Linked DNA regions of Homo sapiens: region 1 is linked to region 2. The links are contacts of gene promoters, found by promoter capture Hi-C in blood cells and fetal thymus (Javierre and others, 2016). All regions are on one chromosome and are shown on one strand. Each heading gives the region's core, a stretch centred on a gene start or on the middle of the fragment in contact. The rest is flanking DNA. Distances are from core to core; before and after follow the strand shown. Region 1 overlaps ARPIN-AP3S2 (ARPIN-AP3S2 readthrough). Region 2 holds the start of PLIN1 (perilipin 1).

Region 1 (5,342 bases), core at 713-3,212, 200 kb before region 2:
CAACTATTTCTTTTTCTTGCTGTTCTTGTAATTTCTTTGCCTAGTCCATCCTCCCAGCTAAAGCTTCTTATGCATCCTTTGCTGTGCCTCTGCCTCTGAAGAGAGATGAACTGGAAATCTGGCTTAAACTTCTGCTAAATCTTAGTTTCTCAATGCTCTTCTTTCTCTCTTGTCTTCTGCTTCCTGTACTACTTCTGCTTCTTTCCTATGCATGTCATATTTATTTATTTACTTATTTTTCACACGCAACACAGATGTAGTTTTTATCTTGAACAGGAGCAAGATCTGATCCATGGTTTTCTTTCTTTCTTTTTTTTTTCTTTCCTTTTTGGAGACGGCGTCTCACTCTGTTGGCCAGGCTGGAGTGCAGTGGTGTGACCTCAGCTCACTGAAACCTCCACCTCCTGGGTTCAAGTGATTCTCCTGCCTCAGCCTCCCAAGTAGCTGGGACCTCAGACATGCATCACCACGCCTGGCTAATTTTTGCATTTTTAGTAGAGACAGGGTTTTGCCATGTTGGCCAGGTTGGTCTCAAACTCCTGAATCTCAGGTGATCTGCCTGACTTGGCCTCCCAAAGTGCTGGGATTACAGGTGTGAAGCACCATGTCCAGCCCATGGTTTTCTTTTCCTGCTTCTAGATCATGATCGTTCTTCTCTCTGCTTCTGGATTGAGACTACTTCTTTTCCCTCTACTACGATGATGCCTTTCACGAGACCTGTATCTTGAGTGACTTCTGCTTCTTGATGGCTTTCTTTGTGTTTGTGTCTGTCCTCATCATTTTCAGATGAATGTATTTATTTATTGAGACAGCATGTCACTCTGTTGCCCAGGCTGGAGTGCAGTGGCACAATCACAGCTCACTGTAACCTCTGTCTCCCCGGCTCAAGCTTCTCACCACAGCCTCCCGAGTAGCTGGAATCACAGGCACACACCACCACGCCTGGCTAACTTTTGTGTTTTTTATAGAGACAGGGCTTTGCCATGTTGCTCAAGCTGGTCTCAAACTTGTGAGCCCAAGCAATTTGCCCACCTTGGCCTTCCGAAGTACTGAGACTACAGACGTGAGTCACTGCGCCCAGCCCATTTTCAGATGAATTTAGTCCCTCTCTTCCTTTATCAGAATAATGTTCTTTGTCATTATGCTCCTCAGAAGTGTATTTCTTAGAGGATTTGTTGTAGGATTCCTGTCTTCTTGCCTCATCATGAAATAGGCTTATTATTTTCCTACCTGAGTCTGCAATGTCTTCAGTTCAGCCTCTTTGCCCATCAGCATGCGCTTTGTGTTTTCGTCCTTCGTTTTCTTTCTTGTTTTCTTTCTCTTGACCTTGATTGTGATCTTGAATAATATTTTGAGTAAGAAAAACAGATGCATCTGACAGTTCTTTTTCCACCCACTATCTGGGGATGTCTTTTTCTGGGGCTAGTCCATCTTGTCCTGGATAACTACCCTATCTTGAGAACCCAGTCTTAGTTTCATGAAACATCTTTAATGAAAACAGCCTTTTGGGATGGTGCTGCTGCAAACTGTGGTCTGGCTCTCCTCGCATGTGCTCTGGCTGCCGCAGAACAGAGCTCAGGCCGCTAGGGGGCACCTCCACGTGCCGCTTTTAGCAGTACCAGCCACCTCAAAGCTTTGCCACAGACTGAATAGCTCCTTCCGGGGGCCTGGATGGCACCCAGGGGATCTGCCGTTGCTTTTTTAATTTATTTTTTTACATTTAGCTCATTAATATCTGTTAGATATTTTTATGTCTGCATTGAAATATGTAACTTTATTTTTCCCCCAAAGGATAACTGTTCCAACATTATCAGTTAGCTTGTCTTTTCCCCACCAACTTAAAATACGACTCTTATTTTTAAAATTGCATTTTATAAACATGTATGTTTCAGTAATTTATATTCTGCCCCACTGATCTATATTCCCATCTTAGAATTATACTTTTATTTTATTTTTAAAATTTATTTAGAGACAAGGTCTTGGTATGTCACTCAGGCTGGAATGCAGTGGTGCAATGATAATTCACTGCAACCTTGAATTCCTGGGCTCAAGCAATCCTCCCACCTCAGCCTTCCAAGTAGCTGGGACTACAGGTGTGTGCCACTATGCCTGGCTAATTTTTTTATTTTTATTTTTTTGTGGAGACGATGTTTTGCTATGTTGCCCAGGCTGGTCTCAAACTCCTGGGCTCGAGGGATCTTCCTGTCTTGGCTGCCCAAAGTGTTGGGATTATAGGCATGAGCCACCTCACCCAGCCTTAGTATTATACTATTTTAGTTAACAAAGCTTTACAATGAATTTTGATACCTAGAAAGACTGCACCCAGGTGAAATAAACAGCCTTGTTTCTCACACAAAGCCTGTTTGGTGGTCTCTTCACATGGACACGTGAGACAGATTTCGCTAGGGAAGCAAATAACCATGGAGGTGGGCAAGAAATATCCATGATTGTAGAGCTTTCAATCAGCCTTTTATTCTTGTAACAAATGAAAAACAAAGGATTATCAGACATCTGCGGAAAACCTCTAACATAGAAGAAGGAGATAAAATGAACAAACAATAAAAAGCAACTTAAAAATGGACACCATATAAAGAAAGGAAAACAGTTTAAAAAAAAAAAAAACCCAAAACCCTATTCTTAAGCTACAGAGAAAGCCTGGCCAACATGGTGAAACCCTATCTCTACTAAAAATACGAAGTATTTTAGCCAGGCATGGTGGCACATACCTGTAGTCCCAGCTGCTCAGGAGGCTGAGGCAGGAGAATCACCTGCACCCGGGAGGCTGAGGCTGCAGTGTTCTGAGATCACACCACAGCACTCCAGCCTGGGTGACAGAGTGAGACCTTGTCTCAAAAAAAAAAAAAAAAAAAAAAGCCACAGAGAAATAAGACATTTATTTTAAATAATAATAAGACCCATTTATTAATTAGAAATAAAATAAGACCCATTTATGTCTTATTGCTAAATGGGTGCTAAACAAAAACACTCACAGCCTTGTTGCTCACACAAAATGAACAAAATGGTCTCTTAGAAATAAAAAATGAGAGGAAATGGAAACAAACAAAAACCCACTTCAACTGAAGTATTAGAAAATCAAGTTAATCAATTGTCTCAGAATGGGCAGAGATGGAAAATGGGAGAGAAAAGATGAGAAAATAAGACAGAGGCCGGGCACAGTGGCTCACGTCTGTAACCCCAGCACTTTGGTAGGCCAAGACAGGGGGATCACTTAAGGTCAGGAATTGGATATCAGCCTGGCCAACATGGTGAAACCTCGTCTCTACTAAAAATACAAAAATTAGCCAGGCGTGGTGGTGCATGCCTGTAATCCCAGCTACTCAGGAGGCTGAGGCAGGAGAATTGCTTGAACCCAGGAGGCAGAGGCTGCAGTGAGCCAAGATCGTGGCACTGCACTTCAGCGTGGACAACAGAGCGAGAGTCTGTCTCAAAAAAAAAAAAAAAAGAAGACAGACAGAGGTCCAATACTTGAATATAAGCAGCTCCAAAAAGATTGATTAGGAATGTGGAAAGGAGGGAATTCTCAACAAAATAATTCGATAAAATTTCCCAGAACTGAAGGACTTGAACTGCAGGATTATAAGGGCTTACCAAGTACCCAGCATAGTGATTGAGAAATAGACCCATTTAACTATGTGTCCTTATAGTGAAATATTCTGGCACTGTTAAAAATGTAAAGATTTATGAATGGCACTAATATGAAATTATTGTATGTGGTTTTTGGCATACATGTATATATCTGTTAGATATGTTATCTGGGAGTAGAATTCCTAGATCATAGAGCATGCATACATAATGTCATAGTTTTCCAAAATGGTTGGTATCTGGCAAAATACAGTGCACTGGTTACCAGTCTCAAGAAAGGAATCTAAATGCTCTTGCCCATTGCATCTTGGTATCAGAGTCGGCAAGGAAAAAGTGCAAACACTGGATAAAGCTTTACTTACATAGAGAAGAGACAGAGCAGGATCAGCTCCAATAGTGTGCGTTGGTTCCTCATGGCAAGTGGGTCTGTCTCCCCAGCAGCCGCTGCAGGGTGGTTTGCCTATGAGCACCCATCTTGTGCTACAGTGGAACGGTGTGCCTGGTCTCTGTCACTTGCTGGCCTCAAGTAAGACCCATTTTCATGCAGTGCCGAACAATTCATGACACTGCTGACAATGAGATTGTTTAAATGAGGTCATTGTCTGAGAGAAATTAAACAGTTATAGATAGATACCTAGGTTGTAGTTACATGGTGTGTTCATTCTGAAAATTCATTAAACTGTGCCCTTGTCATTTGTACACTTTTCTGTTATGTTTTATTAAAAGTTAAAAGGTTCTATAGAGAAGTAAGCTCAGGGCTTTTAAAAAAAAATTTTAAGTTGTAAACACGTCAATTAAATTTATTCATAGGAAGGTATTTTGTAGGCTAAATAACTGACCAAAAAAATTAAAAAGGGAAGATGTTTTGAAGTTAATTTTGGCTGAAATTAAAACACAGCTATGTTAACCCTGTAATAATGAAAAATTTTTTGTACATGTATTCATTGAGGACATAGTATTGTAAGTAGTTGGTTTTTTTAATTTGTTATTCTTTTATGTAATTTTTTTTCTTTTTTCTTTTTTTTTTTTTGAGAGACTCTCACTCTGTCACTCAGGCTGGAGTGCAGTGGTGCGATCTCTGCTTATGGCAACCTCCACCTCAAATGATTCTCATTCAAGCTATTCTCGTGCCTCAGCCTCCCAAGTAGCTGGGACTATAACAGGCTCGTGTCGCCACACCCAGATAATTTTTGTATTTTTAGTAGAGATGGGTTTTCGTCTTGTTAGCAAGGCTGGTCGTGAGCTCTTGGCCTCAAGTGATCCTCCTGCCTTGGGCTCTCAAAGTGCTGAGATTGTAAGTATGAGCCACCATGCCCTACCATAAATTAGCATCTTATAAAGGGGGAAAGAGCCACATGTGTCTGCTGGTTGTGTTGCTATGCTGAAAACAAGGTTTTCCTGTCCTAGATTATTCCCTCTAAATCGAGATAAGTAGGGTGATCAGCTAATGCTGGAGACAAAAGGTAGGTGTTTTAATTTTTGAGATTTATCATAAAGTAAATAGTATTGTGACAGCCCCTTTTACTTTCAGATGTGACATTGATAAAGCTGTGAATGTGTTCCTATTTCTCTTCTTTATCTATTTCTCCTTGTTTTCTAGGTTTTTGTGGAAACTCTGGATAAGTGTTTCGAAAATGTGTGTGAATTGGATTTGATCTTCCATATGGATAAGGTATATTCTCTTGCAGTTCTCTTCCAAACTAGGGTTACTAGAAAACCAAGAGCCTTGGGCATCTGTA
Region 2 (5,091 bases), core at 617-3,116:
TGGTATCCATCTTGGTACTTTTGTCCTCTGCAATGGTGAGTGGTGGGGAGTTTGGGAAATACTACCTCTTCTAAGAGGTTTGTGTAAACCTTAATGGTGTCCTGGTACCACCCTGTGAATCCTTCTTTGTAACTAATGTTTTCCACCCCAGAGCCTCCACATTCATGAGGGATGCCAAAAATCGAAGAAGTTCTTCGTAGATGTACAGCCCAGCACATTCACAACTGAGCATTGTTGCCTGACAATTCATTTATTCAACAATGAATGTTTGAGTGCCATGCATGGTTTTGGGTATCCACTTGTGAGCAAGATGACCTAGGTCCCTGCTCTCACTTGGTGGAGGGGTAGGGAAAGCAGGTAGGTACGGAGAAGGAAAGAAGATAGAACTCTATGCCCTGCAAGCTACTGCTAGAAAACTAACACTTCTGTCTTCCCTCGGGACTCTCCTAGGCCCTTTCACCACTTCTCACCTCTCACCCACATTCTGCACTCCCAGCTAAAGCAGCCAAAGGACTATTTGATTTGGCAGAGCTTTCAGGCACAAAGCCCTATGTTCCCTCTGGCCCAAAGCCACTACTCTGAAGGCTGAAAACTGCCCTTTGGCTCAGGTTGCTGTCCAGTCACAGCCTCACAGATAATTTGTGCTGAACCTTGAGGTGAGGGCAGAGGCCACTTCTTTAAATACTTTGTCTTCTCTACTGCCTTACATTTGAAAAGCACAGGTTGGATCAATAAGTATTAAACGTATAGCGTATTACTCCTTTGAAGCCTCCCTGCTTGACTCCTCCCTTTCCTGCCTTCTCATTCCCTACTTTATTGCATCACAGATACGTAATTTATTACCAAGGATCTTTCATAATTCCCCACCCCTGCCTCTTTCTTCTCTTGCCCACACTGTGTGACTTAACAGAGTCAACAATACATATAATTCCACCAGCAACAAAGAAAATAAGTTTTGTTTTCCTATTGTCTGTTTTCATGAAGAGGCCCTTCTTAGTTAATCTGAAAGCTATGGCTTATACCATAGTCCTCCATCATATCTAAAGCCAGGAACTAGAACTTGGGCTTGTGCTTGAGTCCTGGGTAAAGAAGGGTTGAGTGGTGCTAATTCTTGGCTGTCTGGGTGCTCTTGATTAGTGATAGAATCCTAGTCAACACTGTCGCTTATCCAGACCCAGGAGAATAAAAATCTACTTGGCTCTCCTACTCTTCATTCTGGTAGCATCTTAGGCCAGGTAAAGTTCAATAAATTTTTTTGAATTCTAAGAAGTGGGAATTCCTCCCTCAACTCAAAGGCTATATTGTCAAAAACTCAACTCCCGGCTCTGTCGCTTCTTCACTGAGGGCAATTTATCTCCATAATCAAAGATGAATACATTCAGATGAACTCTTCTGTGTGGGTTTAAATTTTACTGTTCAGCATTCAGTCTTGCTAGTAAATAAGAAAAGATGAGAGAAATGGATTGAAAACTCCCACAAGACCCTCTATGGAAAAGGAGCCAAAAGATTGCAGAGGTATATAGAACTTTAGAGCTTTTGAGTTTAATGATGTCTATCCCTATACCTTCTTTCTGGAAAGCAGATTTTTGTGAATTGAGGGCAGGAACATTACAGAACTGATGCTTCATGGCTCTGGAATACTAAGTCCTCTGAGCCTGGATCTCCTTCAGCTCTGCCACCTACCTCCTTGTTTGCTAAATGTCCTTAGAGAAGTTAGGATATGCCTGGGGAACCCTGGGTCATATAACCATGACAACTGGCTGACCCTGTTGTCTCTCCCTCTCTGCCCTCCTCTAGCTGGGAGGTGGAAGCAGCATTGCCCAAGCCTCCCAGGAGTGACAGGAATTGTTTCTGCCTGAGGAGACACTCTGCAGCCTGGGCTCTGTGAGACTGAGGTGGCGGTCAGCCGGAGTGAGTGTTGGGGTCCTGGGGCACCTGCCTTACATGGCTTGTTTATGAACATTAAAGGGAAGAAGTTGAAGGTAAGGGCCTCTTGGGGATTTTGCTGGGGATGAAAAACTCTGCAGGGAAACTACTGAGGGAGAGATTCTGGTATAGATACCAGAATCTAGAAATAGAGGAATTGGATAGGCACAGTGGATCATGCCTTTAATCCCAGCACTGCAGGTGGCCAAGGCAGGTGGATCACTTGAGCCCAGGAGTTCAAGAACAACCTGGGCAACACAGTGGGATCCTGTCTCTATAAAAAAAGAGAAAAAATTAGCCCTGCATTGTGGTGCATGCCTGTAGTCCCAGCTACATGAGAGGCTGAGGTGGGAGGGTACCTTGATCCCAGGAGGTCAAGGCTGCATTGAGCCATGATCGTGCCACCACATTCCATCCTGGGCAACAGATTGAGACCCTGTCTCAAAAAACAGATAGGGAGAGGGGGAGAGGGACAGACAGAGAGAAAGAGAGAAATAGAGGAATTAACCCAGAGCCTTTTCAAAGATGAAACCTTTAACTTGTTTATTTATTTTTTTAGAGATGGGCATCTCACTGTATTGCCGAGGCTGATCTCAAACTCCTGGGCTCAAGCAATTCTCCCATGTCAGCCTCAGTAGCTGGGATTACAGGTGCTTGCCAGTGCACCCAGCTTGAAACTTCTTGTTTTAGTCTCTTTTGGACCCTCATTTAAGAGCCTTAAGATTTTATCTAAAACTTTTTATCTCTTATGGCTACCTGCATTTTTTATTTCCTAACCTGAACTCCTTTTTTTTTTTGAGACAGAGTCTCCCTCTGTCACCCAGGCTGGAGTGCAGTGGCAGGATCTCAGCTCACTGCAACCTCCACCTCTCAGGCTCAAGCGATCCTCCTGCCTCAGCCTCCCAAGTAGCTGGGATTACAGCTGCCCACCACCACGTCTGGCTAATTTTTGTATTTTTAGCAGAGACGGAGTTTCACCATGTTGCCCAGGCTGGTCTTGAACTCCTGAACTCAGGTGATCTGCCTGCCTTGGACTCCCAAAGTGCCGGGATTACAGGCCTGAGCCACCGCGCCTGGCCTCTTAACCTGAACTCTTATAGGAAACATTATTCTTGGCCGGGCATGGTGGCTCTTGCCTGTAATCACAGCACTTTGGGAGGCCAAGGTGGGCAGATCACTTGAGGCCAGGAGTTCGAGACCAGCCTGGCCAACATGATGAAACCCCATCTCTACTAAAAATACAAAAATTAGCCAGTGTGGTGGTTCATGCCTGTAATCCCAGCACTTTGGGAGGTCTAGGCAGGTGGATCACTTGAGGTCAGGAGTTCGACACCAGCCTAGCCAACATGGTGAAACCCCATCTCTACTAAACAGAAAAAAAAAAAAAAACTAGCCGGGCGTGGTGGTGGGCGCCTGTAATCCCAGCTACTTGGGAGGCTGAGGCAGGAGAATCCCTTGAACCCGGGAGGCGGAGGTTGTAGTGAGCCGAGATTGTGCAACTACACTCCAGCCTGGGCAACAGAGCAAGAATCCATCTCAAAAAAAAAAAAAAAGAAAGAAAGAAAAGAAAAAGAAAGAAACATCAGTCTTGACAAGTAAGCTATGGAGCAACTCATTGCTATGGGACCCTAAGGAGTGGGGCTATTGTGTGTGATATTCACCCTCCAACCTAATGCCTTCTGTTCAGGGCAAATGGGCCCCCAGGCAGCCTGGGCCTAGTTGGTGGCCATGAGAGGTAGGGAAGTGACCCAGTGGAGCTCAAGCCTGAGGGCTTCTGATGGGACCTGGGACTCTGTTTTGCAGCTTGAGGAGCGAGGATGGCAGTCAACAAAGGCCTCACCTTGCTGGATGGAGACCTCCCTGTAAGTAACTTGGGCTCATCTGTGACAGGGGATGGACAACTGAGGGAGGAGGAAGAAGCAGGGAGGGGAGATGCAGGGGACTTAGAGCAAGATATTCCCAGATTATAATCCTAGTTCATTGACTACCATGGCTTAGTTATTCTTGCCCTCACCACCTTTTGTAGGGGGCAGTTGGAGGATCTGGGAGGGGAAAAAAAGATGCCTATTAAAAATTAAGCACCTTGAAAAAAAGGGACAGAAATCCTGGCTTAGGGACGGGGGGAGTGGAGAGGAAGGAAACTACTGTTTAAACCCTGACGCAGAAGCCCATGCTCTGTCCACCACCCAGCTGGATGTGCATTCAGTGCAGAGCCACTGTATTCTGTGTCTCCAGCATCATTCATAACGGCAAATGTCACCTGTCGGAGTTAGACGGTGCACAGCCTGTGCTGCTGTGTGGGGGGAAGGGTGGGATATTCCATGTGTCTGGTGTTCTATCTCTGACCTGGTTTTCACTGTGACTTGAAGTGATTTGATACTTTTAGGGATGCTTGATGGCTCCTGGCAAGGCATCTCAGATTTGGGCACAGTTCGGATAGTGAAACTTAAAAATTATGAACCTGTGCAATATCCACCTTGCCCAAGTTACGCTTTTACTAACTCCTGCACTAGGAATCACTTTGTTTTGTATTGAATCATAGAACAGAGAGAGGCGTAAAATGGTCAAGTACATGGTTAAGCCATTCTAACAGACGGTGGTTTATTCCCTTCCCAGGATCTCTTTCCTCCTTCGGTTTTGTGTAAAACAACCTCTGAAGCCTCGTCCAAAATGTTAAAAAGAATGTTTTCTTGTTTATAGTCATAGTCTATTTCTAGTTCAAATTTCAAATTCACCTGCAGGATAAAAAACTAAGATATTGGCCAGGTGCAGTGGCTCACGCCTGTAATCCCAGCACTTTGGGAGGCCAAGGCGGGCGGTTCACAAGGTCAGGAGATCAAGACCATCCTGGCTAACACAGTGAAACCCCATCTCTACTAAAAATACAAAAAATCAGCGGGGTATGGTGGCGGGCGCCTGTAGTCCCAGCTACTTGGGAGACTGAGGCAGGAGAATGGCATGAACCCAGGAGGCAGAGCTTGCAGTGAGCTGAGATCGCGCCACTGCACTCCAGCCTGGGAGACAGCGAGATTCCATCTCAAAAAAACAAACAAACAAACAACAAAAAAAAACTAAGATATTGTGGGCTGCTCTGTCTTAGTGTACATGTAGGTGTCATTGATGGGGGTCTTTGAACTCTGCCTCCTACTAACAGAACAGGTCAGG

What was found. The method cuts DNA at HindIII sites, captures the fragments that hold promoters and counts their contacts. A CHiCAGO score of 5 or more calls a contact.
Region 1: a contact is called between a fragment that was not itself captured here and the fragment with the promoter of PLIN1 in region 2, in 1 of 17 cell types (megakaryocytes). The highest score is 5.9, in megakaryocytes.

Annotation. Positions count from the first base shown.
Region 1 is chr15:89,871,408-89,876,749 of GRCh38, reverse strand. It overlaps ARPIN-AP3S2 (ARPIN-AP3S2 readthrough), which reads left to right. Exons shown (of 10, transcript NM_001199058.2): 8 at 5,204-5,275. AP3S2 (adaptor related protein complex 3 subunit sigma 2) reads left to right here. Exons shown (of 6, transcript NM_005829.5): 4 at 5,204-5,275. Among named protein-coding and RNA genes, the nearest start is that of MIR5009, 10 kb to the left of the region's middle. The HindIII fragment of the contact is 653 bases long and covers 1,636-2,288 here.
Region 2 is chr15:89,676,142-89,681,232 of GRCh38, reverse strand. PLIN1 (perilipin 1) reads left to right here and starts at 1,866. Exons shown (of 9, transcript NM_002666.5): 1 at 1,866-1,982; 2 at 3,730-3,788. The coding sequence starts at 3,744. The HindIII fragment of the contact is 7,659 bases long and covers 1-5,091 here.